4 separate regions of the Homo sapiens genome follow, and all the other regions are linked to region 1. Evidence: promoter capture Hi-C in human tissues and cell types (Jung and others, 2019). All regions are on one chromosome and are shown on one strand. Each heading gives the region's core, a stretch centred on a gene start or on the middle of the fragment in contact. The rest is flanking DNA. Distances are from core to core; before and after follow the strand shown.

Region 1 (3,080 bases), core at 444-2,943:
ACTGCATTTGTGTCACCACAAAGACATCTAAAGGCACGACAAACTCCATGTGAATGCCTGGGATTTCTTTTTACCAGTGGTCGGCTCTGCAAAGCCAGATCACATTTACTCCAAGTTGCAGTTACTCATCCATTGCCATCCTCCTAACCTTCCAACCAGTCCTGTGCATCTGGGAACTACCCTGTGTTATAATGAAAACGATACCACTCATGGCAACAGAGTCACTGTCATCAACTCTCGCCTAGGTCAAAAGCCTTTTGAGGAGAAGTGGCAAGGTCTCTATATTTGCCTTTTTAAAAATCCCTCTTGTAGCAACCTGGCGTGCTAATTTTGAAGTTTACCTGGCACTGAGTTTCTCTTTGGCTCTCTCCCCTCTCCACAGCCCCTTCCGGTCCTTTATTCACCTCTCACCTGCATAGCAAGCCCTGGAACCTGGAACTCCCTCCCAGTTCTCACGCTTGCTGGGGAAGATAACTGGGTCTAATGGCGCTATTGACAAAGCCTGGTGTTGATGCCGCTTGACTTCCCGACCCCTGTGTGGATTCTTTCAGCTTCAAAAACGCCCTTGGAAGTGGTTTTACTGTAAATATTTGAAGTGTGCGTGTGGGGGAGGGGTGAGACCTGGATGCTCACTCCGTGCCTCGCTCACTCACGGGAAGCCCTTTCCTCTCCACTTCCCAGGAGGCCCCGGCAGCACGAGAGACATAGCCTTTCCCCGCTCCTGCCCGGGGACTGGCCGGGGGTCGCAGCGGCAGGGCTTCCGAAGGATGCCGGGCCCCACGGGTTTTTCAGGGCCGAGGTGTGTGGGCCTTGACTCCCGCAAGCCCATGGGCATCCCTCGGCAGCGAGGAAGAGCCTTGTCACCGAGGACCCGCTCCACTGAGCAGGCACGTGGGCGACGTCTGCAAGCCGACTTGGGTTCTGCAGGCCAGAGCGCCCAGATCTACCGTCTCCGCCTTGACTGGGGCAGGGGCTCCCAGAGAGGATTCGTGGAGGCCAAACTCACACTCACATGCGCGTTTACACCCCCACACCCCCGCACACACACCTGAAAATGCGGGGCCTTCCCATAGCAGATAAGGTTCGACCTGCAGAGCTTTGGCCACGGGGACAAAACCCTCCCCTGCTGCGCCCTGGAGGCCCGAGAGCAGGGAGGGCTTGGGAAACACCACGGTCTTCAGTGCGCTGCCGTCGCCTCGCAGAGCGGCCAGGTCTGCGCAGCGTGGGCGCTCAGGAGCGTGGAACCACCGCGCTCCGCAAGGCAGACGTGGACCCACTCCAGCGCCGACAAGGAGGCCGGAGAGGACGCGCGCAGCTGGCTCCAGGGACCAACCAAGTCCGGAGGGGCCCACGTGTCTCGGGAGCGGGTCTTGGGCCGCCGCGGGGCTCTCCAGGGGCCCGGGGGTTGCCAGTGCCCGCCGTCCGGCTCCGCACCCAGGGGAGGGCGGGCAGAGGCCCCAGGTTGAGCCTCGGAGTATCCACTCCCCGTTGGTGTCCCCGCCCGCCAGCGCCGCGCAACAGCCCGGGCTGCTTAGGACCTCGCGGCGCGGGGGCGGGGCGGCGGGCGGCCGGGACGGTGACAGGTGCGCCCCTCGGCCAATGGCGGAGCCCGCGGCCCTCCCCGGGCCCCCGCTGCGCGCGCCAATCGGAAGCCGCGCTGAGCTTCAAGTGCGCGGAGGGGCGCGGGTCCCCACCACGGCGGCAGCGGCCTCCGCGCGGTCGCCTGAGGGCTGCAGCGCAAAGAACCGGGCTCCCGGGCCCGGACGCGGGGAAGCACTCGCGTGGGAGTTTGTGCGAGCGCGGCCCGGGGCGGGGCCCGCACGGAGGAGGCGCCGGGACCATGGTCACCCTCGGCTGAGTTTCCGGCGGCGACTTTGATTATTGGCAAATAACCACCATAACAATACCGAGCCCCCGGGCTTGCACCGCACGCACTGACTCCGCGAGCCCGCACACGGCCGCGTCGCCCGCCACCGGGCCCTGAGCGCCAGCCCCAAACGAGCCGATGGAAAAATCCAAAAATTTCCGCATCGACGCCCTGCTGGCGGTGGACCCCCCACGAGCCGCCTCTGCGCAGAGCGCGCCGCTGGCCTTGGTCACGTCGCTCGCCGCCGCCGCATCTGGCACCGGAGGTGGCGGCGGCGGCGGCGGGGCGAGCGGCGGGACTAGCGGCAGCTGCAGCCCCGCGTCCTCGGAGCCGCCGGCTGCGCCCGCCGACCGCCTGCGCGCCGAGAGCCCGTCGCCGCCGCGCCTGCTGGCCGCGCACTGCGCGCTGCTGCCCAAGCCGGGCTTCCTGGGCGCGGGCGGCGGCGGCGGCGGCACGGGCGGCGGGCACGGGGGGCCCCACCACCACGCGCATCCGGGCGCAGCGGCCGCTGCCGCCGCCGCCGCCGCCGCCGCCGCCGCTGGGGGCCTGGCGCTGGGGCTGCACCCTGGGGGCGCGCAGGGCGGCGCGGGCCTCCCGGCGCAGGCGGCGCTCTACGGCCACCCGGTCTACGGCTACTCCGCGGCGGCGGCGGCGGCTGCGCTGGCGGGCCAGCACCCGGCGCTCTCCTACTCGTACCCGCAGGTGCAAGGCGCGCACCCCGCGCACCCCGCCGACCCCATCAAGCTGGGCGCCGGCACCTTCCAGCTGGACCAGTGGCTGCGCGCGTCCACCGCGGGCATGATCCTGCCTAAGATGCCCGACTTCAACTGTGAGTACCCTGCGGCCCCCGTGGATGCGCGTGGCGGGAGGGCCTCGCGCATCCTCCACCGGCACCGCCTGCCCCTCTCTGCGCTTGGCTCCCAGCGAGCGGGGGAAGAGCTGCGAAGCCGCCTCGGCTCTGCCCGGGGCCTGCGAGGACTCGCCCGGACCCCCAGGCATGAGACGGGCAGCGAATTATTAAAATGGCCATGCGCAGGCCTTGCCTTCTCTTCCTCTCTTAACGGGAAGGGGCAGTTGGAGGTGTGAGACTGAGATCTAATGATTAACCCGAAGGCTGCAGGAGAAGGAAGTCGCCGGGGGAAGGCGAGCCGAGAGCGCCCTGAATTAGGCAGGCCCGGGAATGGGGGTCAGGGCTTATCACCGGGGAAAGGAA
Region 2 (2,977 bases), core at 33-2,532, 140 kb before region 1:
TCGAAGGTGATGGGCTATGGAAAGCATGGCTTCTCCTTCATGCTGACAAATGGTAAAGGGCGGCATTTGGAGGCCTGAGACAGGAGAACAAGGACATGCAGAAAGCAGCTGCTTTAAAGGCAGTAAAAAACAGGGGTCACAGTCAAAGAATAAGATGCCCCACTTCCAAATTCCTAGGTGCCTACATTCTATAATAGAAGAATTAAAGAAAAGTCACAGAGTGAAGCTCCTTACAGCTTTTGCAAGAACTTCTTTTGAGGCTATTCTATGGTCTTATGAGACCATCTATTTTTTCAACCTTTTAAGGACCCTAGCTGGCAATTCACACTGTAACTCAAGAAAATCAGCACACATTCAAGTGGTTAAAGCCAAGTAGGGGATATCATGAGGCAAGCCAGATGCTTAAGGCACAAATTTAAGGAGGCACTCACTCTCAGGGATGTGCCAGTGCAGGGTCCGCCTGTGCATGAACCTGAGAGTAAGTGCCTCCTTAAATACTGTATGGTGCTTTACTCACCTCCCTGTAGGCCCAGATTTAATGTCCAAAGAAAATGAGACAATGAGACAATTAGTCTCAAGTCTCACTCCTTCCATTCCGCTTGGTTTCTATTTTTAAAAATCGGTTGAATTCCTGGCCAGGCATAGTGGCTCACGCCTGTAATCCCAGCACTTTGGGAGGCTGAGGTGGGTGGATCACCTGAGGTCAGGAATTCGAGACCAGCCTGACCAAGATGGTGAAACCCATCTCTACTAAAAATAGAAAAATTAGCTGGGTGTGGTGGCAGGCACCTGTAATCCCAGCTACTCCGGAGGCAGAGGCAGGAGAATTGCTTGAACCTGGCAGGCGGAGGTTGCAGTGAGCCGAGATTGAGCCATTGCACTCCAGCCTGGGCGACAAGAGCAAAACTCTATCTCAAAAAACAAAAAAAGAATTCTTAACCTTATCTATAGCAGGGAACTACAGTCTTTTGCTCCTACATGTAAAGGATACAGCATAACTGTATTCGAAGGAACAAATGCAGTGTTGCTAAATAATACCAGTCCTGACAGTCAATTAACATTTTCAGAGCCAGGCTGGGGTTGGGTAGTGGCAAGCCTGGAGTTCCAGCTCCTCAGGAGGCTGAGGCAGGAGAATCGCTGGAGATCAGGAGTTTGAGGCTGCTGTGCACTATGATCATGCCTGTGAATAGCTACTGCACTCCAGCCTGGGCGACACAGTGAGGCCCTGTCTCTTAAAGGAAAAAAAAAAAAAAAAAAGAACTAATTTGATCTTAGAAAATATTTTGACTTTATTTGATGCCAGATCTGTAAGAAAAAGTTTTTATGTTCCACTACAATGTATATGGAGCATTATACTATCACATCCATTACACCTCTGCTTTTTAAAACAAAATAGCACAAAACATTTTAAGTTAAAATATTCTAGGTAATCCCTTCAATTATATAATAGAGGGCAGTTTTACAAAACTAGGTAATCCCTTCAATTATATAATAGAGGGCAGTTTTACAAAACTAAGCAATCAAGTTCTTACCATCTTAACAGTCTAGACCTATCATAGGGGAGGAATTAAAACTAGAGTAATTGAGGCCAAGCATGGTGGCTCACACCTGTAATCCCAGCACATTGGGAAGCTGAGGTGGGCAGATCACTTGAGGCCAGGAGTTCAAGGCCAGTATGGACAACATGGCGAAACCCCATCTCTACTAAAAATACAAAAAAATTAGCCAGGCCTGGTGGTGGGCGCCTGTAAGCCCAGCTACTTGGGAGGCTGAGACAGGAGAATCACTTGAATTCGGGAGATGGAGGTGGCAGTGAGATCGCACCACTGTACTCCAGGCACTCCAGCCTAGGCGACAGAGGGAGACTCTGTCTCAAAAAAACAAAATAAAACAAAAAAACTATAGTAATTGGTTTTGGTAGGCCCTAGAGTATCCTCATTCCATAAGGCCAGTATCACCCTAATACCAAACCAGACAAAGACATCACAAAAACACCCTAAATTGATGTCCCTCATCAAAAGAGATGCAAAAATCCTGAACAAAATATCAACAAGCTCAATCTAACATCGTATACAAAGAATTATGCATCACAGTCAAGTGGGATTTATTCCAGATACGCAAGACGGGCTCAATATTCTAAAATGACTTAATGTGATCCATCATATCCACAAGCTGCAGAAGGAAAATCACATAACATTAACAGATACAGAAAAAGCATCTGACAAAACCCAACCTTCATTCATGATAAAATTCTGCAAACTAGGAATAGAGGGGAATTTCCCCAATTTGATAAAGAATATCTACCAAAAAACCCACCAAACATCATACTTCATGATGAGAAACTCAAAGCTTTCCCACTAAGATTAAGAACAAGGCAAGTTCTCACCACTCCTTTTCAACTATAATCCTACCTAATGCAGTAAGACAATAAAACACATTGCTTTCTGATGGTCTTAGAAAAGAAAAAAGAAAAAAAAGGCATACAGATCAGGAAGGAAGAAATAAAACTGTCTTTGGTTGCAAATGAAATGATTATCTGTGCAGGAAATTCCAAGTATCAACCAAAAAACCACTCCTGGAACTAAGAAGTGATTATAGCAAGATTTCAGGACATAAGGTTAGTACATGAAAGTCAATTGCTTCTCTACAAATAAGCAATGAACTGGAATTTGAAACTGAAACACAATACCATTCACATTAGCACCCCTTAAAAATAAACGCTTAGGTATAAATCTAACAAAATAGGTATAAGGTATATATAAGGAAAATTATATAACCAATGAAAGAAATAAAAGAACTAAACAAATTAAGAGATATTCCATATTCATGGATAGGAAGGCTCAACACTGTCAAGATTTTAGTTTTTCCCAACTTGATCTACCAATTCAGCACAATCCCAATCAAAATTCCACAGGTTTTTTTTGTGAATATCAACAAACTGACTCTTATGGAGAGGCAAAAGATCCACAATAGCCAA
Region 3 (2,760 bases), core at 230-2,729, 200 kb before region 1:
GATGTGTTAACTCTTGTGCCTCCTCTCATGTTCTTCCACGCCAGATCAAAACGTTACATTAAATAAATGCAGAAACTAATACATTATTCAAGTACTAATAAATTTATTCAGAAATGCACACACTGCCGGGCGTGGTGGCTCACACCTGTAATCCTAGCATTTTGGGAGGCCGAGGCAGGCAGATCACTCGAGCCTAGGAGTTCAAGACCAGCCTGGGTAACATGGTGAAACCCTATCTCTACAAAAAATACAAAAATTAGCCGGGTGTGGTGGCACATGCCTGTAGTCCCAGCTACTCAGGAGGCCGAGGTGAAAGAATCACTTGAGCCTGGGGGGTGGAGGTTGCAGTGAGATCGAGCCACTGTACTCCAGCTTGGGCAACAGAACGAAACCCTGTCTCAAAAAGAAAAACAAAAAACAAAAAAACCCCACAAAGGTACACAACTGTTACACATGCTCTATTATGTGCCATTTGAATGAAAAATAGGTGATGCTGTAAGCAGGTTTCCCTTAACCCCAATATTAAAAAGATCAAGTAGATAACTGCTTAGAAACATACCAACTCCTTATAAAAATCACACTTGACAACTGTTCAAGGTAAACATTGTAAATTAACAGGCACTGTTTTCACAAGATCGCTATGTTTGAGAGTTCATGGCAATGATGATCATAAGAAAATCTTGCTTAACTGACCTTGGGGAAATATTCTTACGCACTAGCTATATTATCACAAATGTATATATAAATTAGATGACAAGGCTATTAATCCTAAATTGTGACATTTCTGTATGGAGATGACGGATATTTAGATATAGTATTGCAACCAAAAAATTAAGTACATATAGTCCAAGTTTTGAAGGGCAACTGAAAGACTAAATTGCATCATAACATAAAATAAAAGTATCTTTTTTATCTTAAATGTGATATGTAAAATCTGGTAACTAAAACCAAACAACTGAGTTAATTTTTTTTTTTCTTTCTACAGTAGATCTAGTCCTGAAACCAGATGAGTTAGTTCTTTAAAAAGCAAAATACAAAGCATACTTAGCATACAATTTCCAGGTTCTGAAGTGCAATAAATGTGCAATGTGGGAAATACATCAAATGAGAATGGATTTTTACAATTTGACTTCATAAGAAGAATATATAAAAGTAACATGTCAGAAAAAGCTCTAAGAACATGACCTCGTTGGAAAACAACCGTTTTCCTCAAGTGAGTCAAGTGCCAGATGACGCAGCAGCTGGTGCTTCTCTCCTGTGTGCTTCCACAGGACCGGCCTCTGTGGTTTGCTGTTTCCCACTGTCATTAGCTGAATGCATGTCTCCTTCACTACGTGGTGATACTGCAGGAACAGGCACCCTGTGTGAATTCATTTATGATCCCTTAGCATAGAGCTGTGTCACTATGGGTGGGATGAATACTGTGAGTGTTCAAATAACTGAGAATAAAACACTCTAACCTATGAAAGTCATGAAGTATCTGGTATGCACTGCTGCTGTCAAGGGTTAACCAAATTTTATATAGCCCTTAGTTACCACTTGTTAACCCATTTATGCCTAGTGTTCCATTACTGGAACGCTAAGCTTGTGGGATTTATATTCTACTGCTCAAGGTCATTGCCAAGGCCTGATTTTTCACACAAAAAATTCGCAACCTCTGGCACAAACGGGTTAAAAACTGGAGTATTTTGAAAAACAGTATTCTTCAGCACATATTTAAAACACTATAAAATTACTGCATATAGCATCCACTTTAGTAGTCAAAAAACAAAAACAAAATCAATCAAAATCTTCAATAACAGAAAAGGATAAGGCACAGCGCTACAAGCTTTGGATCTCTTGGTTGTAACATAGTCAAATGGTCGCATGTTAGGATTATATTAACAGGGCACTGCTGTTGCTTTATTACTTTTTAAAAATAGCTTTTTGGAACTGAAAAAATACAACTTAACCACTAAGGAAGTAAAAAAATCACTCATAGTATGGCTCTCTCTCTCTCTCTCTCTCTCTCTCCAGACATATGGATAATGAGGGCATGGGAACCTTCCTCCTCATTCCCTGCCACTTCCTCCTGTTTCCCTATCACAGGAGGAAACTCCTGTTAAGTTTGGTGGATGCACACAGACATCTCAAAACAGGATTTCCTATCTCATCAAGCTAAAGTAATTATAGCTCTAAATTACACTTCAAGAGGAGTTTATAAATTTGATAAATGCATAAACTGTTTTAGCAGTGTCAAGACAGGGCTTAGAAAGTGACCTCAATTCTTACAGTGACAAAGAAAGATGACTCTATCCACTTAAAATTCTATGCTCTGTGACCAGCCAGCAGAGCCTCTCACACAAATGACTTTGGGAGGACCATGATAGGACTGAAAAATGAAAATGGTCGGTGTTGAAGGAGTCAGGTCTCATCGTTTGCAATTCTGTCAAAATCAATGGAAGGCAGGAGATCATGGGCTAAACGCTTCTGCGTTCTTTGGTTGATTCTACCTCGAATTCTTCAACTCAAATTTGGCACAACAATAATATGAAAAATGCTGATACAATTTGTATTCTTTTCAGAAGGGGAGTGTAGAATAGCAGCTGGTTCTACCATCATATACATGACCTCATCTGTAAAACAAATTATAGTATCTTTCTCACAGAACTATTGTATTAAATGAATATATGCAAAACTCTTAGAATACTGCCTAAAACACAGTTAACTACAGAGGTGTAAGTTCATACAACTTCATAATAGAGATAGTATTTTCTTAAA
Region 4 (2,876 bases), core at 283-2,782, 170 kb before region 1:
GTGAGAGCCTGCAGGTGATTTCCCGGTTCACGGGTCCGCATGTTCTGCTTTCATCGTGTTTGCACACCCACAGCGAGGAAAAACCTGTCCTCTCTCTCGCTGAGAAAGCCCACAGCCTCATCTTCACATGAATACAAAATACACTGCATATAAATAAGGGTTTAATTTCACAAATTCTATGGGAGGTGACTATTTAATAACTTTCTTCCAAAAACAAAAATTTATCTACATTCCATCTACAGAACCCACTCTTTTTTATAAACATACAAAAAAATGAATACTTGTTGGTGTACAGTTTGGACAGATGCAACAGTTCCAGCATCCACTGTCCACTATAAAAACGGCTTCACTCCTTTGTCATCAGCCCACCCCTCAGCCATGAGCCCTGGCAGTGAATATCTTCTGTTCCTTTCTTTGTCTTCTCTTATTTTTTAAAAAAAATCAAGCCCTGAGCTGACTTATCGATCCTTTTCTTATTGCTGTGATCTCTTTCATTCGATACTAGTGAAGCTCTTTGTCCAGGAAGGTGCAGCACTGCACTGACACACCCACTTCACAATATTCTAAAAATTTACTTCACCTGGAAGCCCTGAGACCCTCTCAAGTATATTCTGTGATTACACTTAGTAGTAATCAATATAAAACTCCTTAATGAAAAAATAACAACTTATGATAGCCATACCTCAAGCCATTTCAATTGCTTAAGACCAAAAAAAGTCATTGGCGGTTAAATTCTTTAAGTAAAACACAAATTATGTATGCATGTATATATAATTTTAAAGTTTTTTATTCCCTGAAAATATACTGTAAACTCAATAGTAAGGAAGAAAAGAGATAAGAACTTGAAAGTAATTTTTAAGTAAATAACATTTATCCTCTATAAAATCAGCAGGAATTAATGGAAGACACTACCCGGTGTTCACAGGATAGGGTAAAAAGGATCTTTTTGACCCAACAATTTCACTTCCAGAAAATATTTCCTAATAACTAAGTTAACATATAGTATGATCCTATTTTGCCTAAAAAACCAAACACAAAGCTATGTGTCTCCATTTACACTTCCATGAACGTGCTAACAAAGCGGTGGGAGAGACTTTCCCATCACTAGAAACTGTGGTAGTGGGGCTGACGGGGCTTCTCTGCAAAGGCTGCTTGAGGGTCTGACTTGTGTAACTGAAACTACGGGTGGACAGAAAGCTAGAAGATCCGACGGGGCTGCCTGCATCGCAGCCCCCCAGATGCAGGGCACGGGGCTTACCGGGCTTGAGGGCTTGTCGGCTTCTTCACTCTCCTCCTCAGAGTCACTGGCTGAGTCGTGACAGCTCGCGCTGGCAGGAGAGACTGGTAACTGAGAGAGGAAGGTCTGCAGCACCCGCAAATACACCAGCAGCCCTTCCTCAGAGAGGGCCCCTTTGCAAAACAATCAGTTAAAACGTATTTTAGTTAAACATTATTTTTTAAAATGGAAAACGAAGACGCCATTTTTCCTCACACGCAGAGAGGCATTTCTGACCAGATCTTATTTTTAAAATTCTAACTGTGTTATAATAGGAAACATATTTAGATTTTGTCCCCGTTCATGTCAGAAAGCACCTACAACTCTTGTAATTTCTTGAAAGATAAAGAGTCTCTTGTTATTCATAGCCAGCCCTTTGTGATCATACTTGAGGTGACTTATGGTGAGGCCATCTAGGGGACTCAGAATGGGGCTTTTCACCAGAAAAACCAAGTGATCAGAGGGTTGGAACTTTCAGCCCCACGCACCAACTTCCAAGGGGCTGTCTGTGGGAGGGACACTGGAGAAGAAGCACCATAAAACTCAACAGGAAGACACAATGAGCTCAACACAGGGAGGTGCCGAGAGTGTGGAGTGCCTGGAGAAGGCATGGAAGCTCCCCATTCCCGCACACCTCGACTTCCCGAGTTCTGTGAACTGTCTTAGTCAATTACCAATCCCAAGGAGGGGCTGAGGAACCCCCATTTTTGCAGGTTGGTCAGAAGTATAGGTGACAACCTACTACTTGTAATCGGCCTCTGAAGTGGGTGTAGTCTTGCAGGACTAAGCCCTCAGATGATGGGATCTGACATTATCTCCGGGTGGACGGCATCAGAATTGAACTGAATTGTAGAATACCTAGTTGGTGTCCACTGAAGAATTGCTTGGTGTGTGGGAAAAAAAACCCCACATTTCTGCTCACAGAATTTTTCAGTGTTGAGTGAGAGAGTAAGAAAAACAGTTTGGGCTGGGCACAGGGGCTCAAGCCTGTAATCCCAGCACTGTGGGAAGCCGAGGCGGGTGGATCACGAGGTCAAGAGATTGAGACCATCCTGGCCAACATAGTGAAACCCCGTCTCTACTAAAAATACAAAAATTAGCTGGGTGTGGTGGCGTGCACCTGTAGTCCCAGCTACTCAGGAGGCTGAGGCAGGAGAATCACTTGAACCCGGGAGGCGGAGGTTGCAGTGAGCTGAGATGGAGCCACTGCACTCCAGCCTAGTGACAGAGCGAGACTCTATATACCCCCCCGCACCCAACCCCCAAAAGTTTGGTTTTCACATTTTCCTATATTTCTTTCATGAATAATTCATGCATGTATGTATGTATGTATGTTTTCAAACATACTACAGGAAGATGTTATTCTAGAAGAGGCACACTGGAAATTTAGCAGAGGGAGGGAAACAGGCCTGACTCACAGAAGAGCTTTCCCATTTAACTCTGTTAACTCTATTAAAATAATCTGTGTGGCCTCATAAGACACATATATATGTCAGTCTTTTCCACTGTATCTGGAAACTGTCCCCAGGAACACACTGCCCAGACCACATCCCTCCAGCAAATACACTCCTCCAGGAGAGGCCCACCTTTCCATAACACC

What was found. The method cuts DNA at HindIII sites, captures the fragments that hold promoters and counts their contacts. A contact is called where the count stands out against the background at its distance.
Region 2: a fragment that was not itself captured here is called in contact with the fragment with the promoter of MNX1 in region 1 in 2 of the 25 tissues and cell types used here (H1 embryonic stem cells and pancreas).
Region 3: a contact is called between a fragment that was not itself captured here and the fragment with the promoter of MNX1 in region 1, in 2 of the 25 tissues and cell types used here (H1 embryonic stem cells and adrenal gland).
Region 4: a contact is called between a fragment that was not itself captured here and the fragment with the promoter of MNX1 in region 1, in 2 of the 25 tissues and cell types used here (dorsolateral prefrontal cortex and neural progenitor cells).

Annotation. Positions count from the first base shown.
Region 1 is chr7:157,009,276-157,012,355 of GRCh38, reverse strand. MNX1 (motor neuron and pancreas homeobox 1) reads left to right here and starts at 1,693. Exons shown (of 3, transcript NM_005515.4): 1 at 1,693-2,696. The coding sequence starts at 2,006. MNX1-AS1 (MNX1 antisense RNA 1 (head to head)) reads right to left here and starts at 1,499. Exons shown (of 2, transcript NR_038835.1): 1 at 1,049-1,499. RefSeq lists silencers at 1,282-1,891, 2,402-2,471, 2,482-2,531. The HindIII fragment of the contact is 12,613 bases long and covers 1-3,080 here.
Region 2 is chr7:157,147,012-157,149,988 of GRCh38, reverse strand. All of the region lies in intron 1 of UBE3C (ubiquitin protein ligase E3C), which reads right to left. Among named protein-coding and RNA genes, the nearest start is that of UBE3C, 9.6 kb to the right of the region's middle. The HindIII fragment of the contact is 9,344 bases long and covers 1-2,977 here.
Region 3 is chr7:157,210,421-157,213,180 of GRCh38, reverse strand. The region is part of intron 13 of UBE3C (ubiquitin protein ligase E3C); the gene reads right to left. Among named protein-coding and RNA genes, the nearest start is that of UBE3C, 73 kb to the right of the region's middle. The HindIII fragment of the contact is 4,795 bases long and covers 1-2,760 here.
Region 4 is chr7:157,182,412-157,185,287 of GRCh38, reverse strand. It overlaps UBE3C (ubiquitin protein ligase E3C), which reads right to left. Exons shown (of 23, transcript NM_014671.3): 9 at 1,259-1,410. Among named protein-coding and RNA genes, the nearest start is that of UBE3C, 45 kb to the right of the region's middle. The HindIII fragment of the contact is 6,873 bases long and covers 1-2,876 here.